Regions from separate parts of the Homo sapiens genome. Here region 2 is linked to region 1. The links are contacts of gene promoters, found by promoter capture Hi-C in blood cells and fetal thymus (Javierre and others, 2016). All regions are on one chromosome and are shown on one strand. The core of a region is centred on a gene start or on the middle of the fragment in contact, and the rest is flanking DNA. Distances in the headings are between cores, read along the strand shown.

Region 1 (3,354 bases), core at 853-3,352:
CACTGCAAGAAAAAAAAAAAGAAACCCAGGCCAGGCGCGGTGGGTCACGCCTGCAATCCCAGCACTTTGGAAGCCCTAGGCGGGAGGACCACCTGTGGTCAAGAGTTTGAGACCAGCCTGGCCAACGCAGTAAAACCCCATCTCTACTAAAAATACAAAAATTAGCTGGGCATGGTGGTGCGCACCTGTAATCCCAGCAACTCAGGAGGCTGAGGTAGGAGAACAGCCTGAACCTGGGAGGCGGAAGTTGCAGTGAGTCAAGATCGTACCACTGCACTCCAGCCTGGGCGACAGAGGGAGACTCCATCTCAAAAAAAAAAAAAAAAAGAGTCAGTGAAGTCAAAAAATCTGAACACTATCAACCGACTTGCTCTAATTGACATTTTCAGAACACTAGACCCAAGAACTGCAGAGTATACATTCATTACAAGTGCAAAGAGTATTCATCAAAACAGACCATATGCATAATTTTCAAATGACTGATATCTTAAAATTAGCTCTAAAAATATTACGCAAAGTGGTATTGCTAAAAAGCCATTAAAGCAATACCAAAAAACACTCAAAAACCCAATATCTGATAGAAAAGGAACACAAGAGAAACAAAACCAGAAAGGTCAAATGGAAAACTTTAGAGCTTCCTGGGTTCAAATATATTCTCTGATCATAGTGCAATTAAAGTAGAAATCAATAACAATAACTAGAAAATCCCAATTTATGGAAATTACTAAATAATGCTCTTAACCCATAGTCAAAGAAAAAAATCACAAAGGAAATTAAAATATGTTTTCATACTGAGTGACAATGACAGCATTATCAAACCACCTGAAAAGCAGCTTTAGCTCAGAGGTAAACCTACAGTTTCAAATAACATCTTAAAAAACGAATAAATATATTTTTAAAAATACCTTGCTTTGTAAATCCAACCTATTTGGCTCAAGAGTTTCAAATAACAAGCGGCAAGATTTTAGATAGCAAGATACCGACCTGTAAACTTACTGCAATTTATCTGTTTCCTAAATTAAGATAGCAGTTTAGATAATATTTAAGAGAAATGACATTTTGGAAAAACTACAGATTTTATAAAATACTTAAATCTTTTGTTAGTAATATTATACTCCCAGGTAGTGTGTAAGAAAAATGTCTCGATTATTCAAAATTAAATTACTTTATATAGTATTAAAAATTTAATAGAGTTTATATTCCGATAACCTCATGAGGAACTGCCCCCATTAGTTATGAAAAAAAAATAAGGTTGTCTGTTATACCTGTTATTAAACCTTTAACAAATAGAATGAATTTTTAAAAGTGCATTCTAGGTGTAATATACACAAGTGGTTACATACATGGTTACATATATAAGTAACCATTTGTTAAGCACCTACTACGTATCGGCTCATTATTAAGCTCGGTTCATGTATTTCCAATTCCCACAATTACCCTGGTGTACAGATCAGGAACCTCCGAGGCTCACAAGTGGCAGCCAGATTAACCCAGGAAGCTCTAAAGCCTTTGCTTTGGGGAGAACTGCCAACGTCTGGTGATTTGTTGGGGCGTTTTCTGGTTGTCACAAGCAGCTAGGGGAACTGGCATTTAGTGCTCGAGGCCAGGGCAGCGCTGCTCATTGGATATGTATTCTCCACCATGCGCCCCCCAAATGCCGACTGCACTCTGATGAGAGAGGGAGAGACTCCAGGCATCATCCCATCGGGTTTCCTCTTCCAGAGACTCATTTTCAGCCCTTAGGGGAAGACAGCGGGGAGGAGCCCGTTTTCGGTCCCAGTGCAGAGACCCGGCCGGTCCCGCGGGGCGCAGAGGCGCAGGAATGCAGAGCCGGGACGGGGTTCACACATCCCCCCGCACCCACGGTCCACTCCCAGCCATGGCTGCCCCGGCCCCGCACTCGCCACGTCCCCCGCGCGCTCCCAGACGCATGGGCAAGGGAGCCCGCTGGCCCCTCCGTAGCTCCGGGGTGCCCAGCTGAGTCAGGTGCGGACGCAGATAGCGCAAGGCCTGACCCCGAGCGGCCGGAGGCCGGGACCGCCCCGCAAGCGCGCTCACCTCGGCCCGCGGCGCCGGCTCCGGGCGCACTTCCGGGAGCTGGGTGGCTGCGCGCGCCTCAGGCGGCAGGCGAACGACGTGCGGCACCGGGCGGAGCTAGGGGGCGGGGGCGGAGCTGATACCGAAGCTCCTATTGGCCGTCGGGGACGCCCCGCCTCTCTCTGGCGTTGCAGCCCAGGAGCCTCCACCGACATGGCAGCGAGGTTCCCGAGCCAACGCCATCCTCCGTTCCTTCCGTCACTCACTCACTAATCACTGTTCCTGAGTTCCTTCACTTCTCACCCGTCATTTATTGCGCACCTATTCTGTGCCAGGCACTCGGCCAAGCACTGCGAGGCCTTCAAAGATCATTTCTTTGTCTCTCCCAAACCCTTCCGCCCAGTCCCACCCGCAGAGCTGCAACGCTCTGCCATTATCCCTGATTCTTAACCGCCGCCTTTCTCCTTTCCGTTCTTGCCTCACTGGGCCTCCCTGAGACACTTGATTTGCCCCAACCTTCTTCCTCTGTCTTGGTTCTCCCACTCTCATCAGCTCTGCATCCCCTGGGTCCTCTCCCACTTCTCCCCATTCCGTTGGGGCTAGTCCAATGTGGTGCCATCCTCTTTCCACCTGCGTCTCTCTCTCTTCTCTCTCTCTCTCTCAACAAATGTCATCCCTGACTCTTCCCTTCTCCTTCCCTTTCCCACACGCCAACAATGGCTGAATCCTCTGATTTGACCTCATTGTCTCTCAGACACCTCACCCTCTCTCCCTTCTCACTATCCCTCCCTCGGCTCAGTTCCACACCATTTGTAATGGTCAAGACCTTCTTACCCTTTCCCCAGCGTCCAGTGTTGCCGGTTTCCAGGCCATCCTGTGCTGGGCCACGACATCAACTTGTGATACTAAGTTGCATTAATGGAAGTATCATGTCAAAGTTTGGGTGTTCCACCTTGGGCAACTGGCAAAGAGGAGGGTATTCAAAAAAAGCTGCCATGTTCCCCAATAACCTATGGAAATAAAATAAATAAAAAATAAAAATTTAAAGAAGAGCTGTCATTATCATAACATGTCCTGTACCTGTCATTATCATAACATGTCCTGTACCTGTCATTATCATAACATGTCCTGTACCTGTCATTATCATAACATGTCCTGTACCTGTCATTATCATAACATGTCCTGTACCTGTCATTATCATAACATGTCCTGTACCTGTCCCATGTTTACAAGAATTAAAGATCCTCCTCTGGAGAAATAAAGCTTGATGCGGGGATGGGATTACATCTTCATGTACCTGAAAAGTGACCAGCGGAA
Region 2 (3,219 bases), core at 217-2,716, 790 kb after region 1:
TTGCAACTATAATCAACATATGCAAAATATCCTATTTCAAAGAAGATCCTTCCTTTATAAGATTAGTAATTCTGTTGTATGAACAGGATTTTTCTCTATTATGCTAAATATAATCATTTTGTAGTAAATGAATACGGCAATGTACTATATGAAAATTTATATGTAATTTGATTATTGTAATTTAACAAATAGTTCTCTTACTGAAGATCAGGCAGCATATTTTTCTATTTAGGGATGAGGAAACAGAGGTTTGGAGAGGTTAAGCTGTTTTCCTAAGGTTATATAACAGGTATGTGGAATTCTGATGCAGGAACTCCTATCTGTTTAATCCAAAGTGCCTCACACCCAACAATACTGCTTTTACTTGATATATAATGATAAAACCTTGATATATAATGATAAAACCTAACTGCAATCACCAATCTTTTTCTTTTTTTTCTTTTCTTTTTTTTTTGTTTTTTGAGATGGAGTCTAGCTCTGTCACCCAGGCTGGCGTGCAATGGCGCGATCTCCACTCACTGCAACCTCCACCTCCCAGGTTCAAGCTATTCTCCTGCCTCAGCCTCCCAAGTAGCTGGGATTACAGGTGCCCGCCACCACGCCCAGCTAATTTTTGTATTTTTAGCAGAGACAGGGTTTCACTGTGTTGGCCAGGCTGGTGTCGAACTCCTGACCTCGTGATCCACCCTCCTTGGCCTCCCAAACTGTTGGGATTACAAGCGTGAGCCACCGCGCCCGGCTCACCTATCTTTTTCTAAGGATAGAGACCAAAGAAGCCACAACCCCTTCCAAGGAGTCAACTGACGCCAATGGGATGCTGTGGTGCAGGACACTTGGGGGGTGCTGCAGCTGATGCCCCTTGGTCTCCTGGTGGTGGAAGGGAAATGGGACTAGATACGAGATTGGCATCTAAGCCATACAAAAAAGCTGTCTCAGACAGGTTGGGCCAGTAAGCACAACGTCACTTATCTATATTGGCTTCTGGTTACCTAATGGGTTTGGTTTGGTAAAAATTAAGAATCAGACTTCTGGGATGCAAGCTATGCCTGTTCAAAATCTGCTGTCAGCCCCTGTGTTTCAAGCTTAACCTTGAACCTCATCATTAATCAGGTGACCTTAGACCGTTTTATCAGCCACGTATCTGCTAGCATAAATCTCCCTTCTGTGAATTCAGAACACTGATACCTCACATTCACTAAAAATACAATGAGAGACAGATGCTCACTTTCTTTATTTGCTGTTGTATTCTTGGTCCCACTTTGCCATTTTTAAAACAGGAAAACGTTTCCCTTACTCGAACGCTAAAGTGCAAAGCTGCTGGTGACGCTGCCTTCTCCCACCTCCGCACTCCACTGTCCTTGCAAACTTTGGACAGAGGAAAGGTGGGCACGGGGCGCGAAACTACAAGTCCCGGCATGCACGGCGTTCTCCGCACAGGCGCACGGGGACCGCCGGGCCAGCCGGCCAGCCAGCCTGCGGAGACTCCCGGGTCCCCGCGCCGGACTGGGACTGGGAGCAGGCAGCCCGGGCGGAGCGGGCCGGTGCCGAGGACGGCCCCAGGCATTGCTCTGCCCCGGGCATTGCGCGGCGCGCGTGAGGGGGATGCGGCAGGAGGCGGCGCGGCGGGAGGAGTAGGCGGCGGCGCCCTCGGGAGGGAGCTGCGCGCGGGCCAGACGGCGCCCGGAGGCTCCGCAGTGCCGCCGCCGTCGCCCGGGAGGCTCCGCGCGGGAGCCATGTAACCCTGCGGCGGGCTCCGGGCTGCTCCGTCCTTCCCCAGCTCCCGGGCTAGCGCGGCAGCGGGGCCACGATGAAGAAGCAGTTCAATCGCATGCGCCAGCTGGCCAACCAGACGGTGGGCAGGTAGGTCACCCGCGGGCACCGCTGTCGGTGCGCGCCCGCGAGGCTGCATCCGCAGGGGCGCGCAGGTGATGGAGCCCGCCCAGCCTCCAGTCCTCCTTGCCTCAGTCCTTTCCCCTGCACCAGCTCCCTCCAGGCGCCGCTCGCAGGCGCGACCCCTCCTCCCTAACTTCCCAGACCCCGGAGCTCTTCTCACTCGCCGCCTTCTGCTCCGGGCTCCGGTTGCCAAGCGCAAAGTGTGACGCATCCTTTACCTGCGTCCCCGGCTGCCCCTTCGCTTCGTCCTCCCTGCCTTTCCCCGGGACTCCCTTCTCCCTCTGGCCGCCTGTCTTCCTGGAAACAGGTGTTTGCTCTGATTGTGCTGGAGGCAGCCGAACCGCAGTCGGTCTCCGGAGATCTCTTCCCTCCCCTCCCCTGCGCCGAGTTCAGGGCTGCTCCCGGGTCCAGGGAAAGTGCTGGGCCTGGTCGGCCTGCCCCTCCCGCCGTGTTTGTTTTCAGGGACTATGACTGTACGAGATTCTGGATCACTTTCCTGGCCGGGTTTCTTAAGGCGTTTGGTGGGGGGAAAGGGTGAGGGGTGGGAGAGGAAGGAAGGTGCTGGTGGAATGGCGTTGCTGCCTGCTTGATGTTAGGACTGATTTCAGTGGAGGGAGGGAGGCTGCAAAAAGGAGGCCCAAGTCCTCGGGAAGATGAGATAAGCAGAGAATCGCAGCCAGGTAGGGGAGGGGGACAGAGGCCCCACAGTCAGAAGAGTCAGGCCCCGGGAAGCTGCAAGACCCCGCCTGCTGCCATCACGGTGAAAATGGGCTACATCTGGACTCCAGGAGCGGCTCTGCAGGGTGCCAACATCTATTAAGGTTACATAAAAATCCTGGTGGGTCGCTCCCAAGACTAGACATTCTTTGAACACAGGAGCGTTAGGTAGAAGGGATTTTTCCTGGAACCCCTACTCCTGGGGAGGGATTTCCGTTGCTGCTGTGGCAAAGGAATTCAGGTGTGCTGTTCTAAAGCAATCAGAAAGCAAAGAATCCAGCCTTGGGTGCAGTTCAAATGCAAGCTCAACACCTCGAGGGCTCTCCACTAGGTTTACGGAGAAACCGAATACCTTTCTTGGGTGGGAAGTGGAGCCTGAACTGGCATCTGGTAGGATGGGGGTGGGGACATCCCTGGGGAATAGGGGACATCTGAACTCCCGTCTGAGCATACTGCCCTAGTTACAGTGGGCATTTGAGGGCAGGGGATGCGGTGGCTTCTTATGCTTCCAGGGACTCCAGATGGTTTCCAAGTAACAATGTCTAAAATTGACTTGGATTCATTTTTCCTTCCCAAACACATGTGCTTTAACATGAGGGGGAATTTATG

The links. Contacts are between HindIII fragments. The CHiCAGO score rates a contact against its expected background, and 5 or more counts as called.
Region 2: a contact is called between the fragment with the promoter of ARHGAP44 here and the fragment with the promoter of ZNF18 in region 1, in 2 of 17 cell types (M2 macrophages and erythroblasts). The highest score is 6.9, in M2 macrophages.

What each region holds. Positions count from the first base shown.
Region 1 is chr17:11,995,373-11,998,726 of GRCh38, forward strand. ZNF18 (zinc finger protein 18) reads right to left here and starts at 2,103. Exons shown (of 7, transcript NM_001303281.2): 1 at 2,059-2,103. RefSeq lists a silencer at 1,802-2,251 and enhancers at 2,184-3,167, 2,282-2,521, 2,592-2,671. The HindIII fragment of the contact is 4,230 bases long and covers 1-3,298 here.
Region 2 is chr17:12,788,032-12,791,250 of GRCh38, forward strand. ARHGAP44 (Rho GTPase activating protein 44) reads left to right here and starts at 1,467. Exons shown (of 21, transcript NM_014859.6): 1 at 1,467-1,860. The coding sequence starts at 1,808. ARHGAP44-AS1 (ARHGAP44 and MYOCD antisense RNA 1) reads right to left here and starts at 2,253. Exons shown (of 2, transcript NR_104607.1): 1 at 2,112-2,253. RefSeq lists a silencer at 1,394-1,743. The HindIII fragment of the contact is 2,845 bases long and covers 1,081-3,219 here.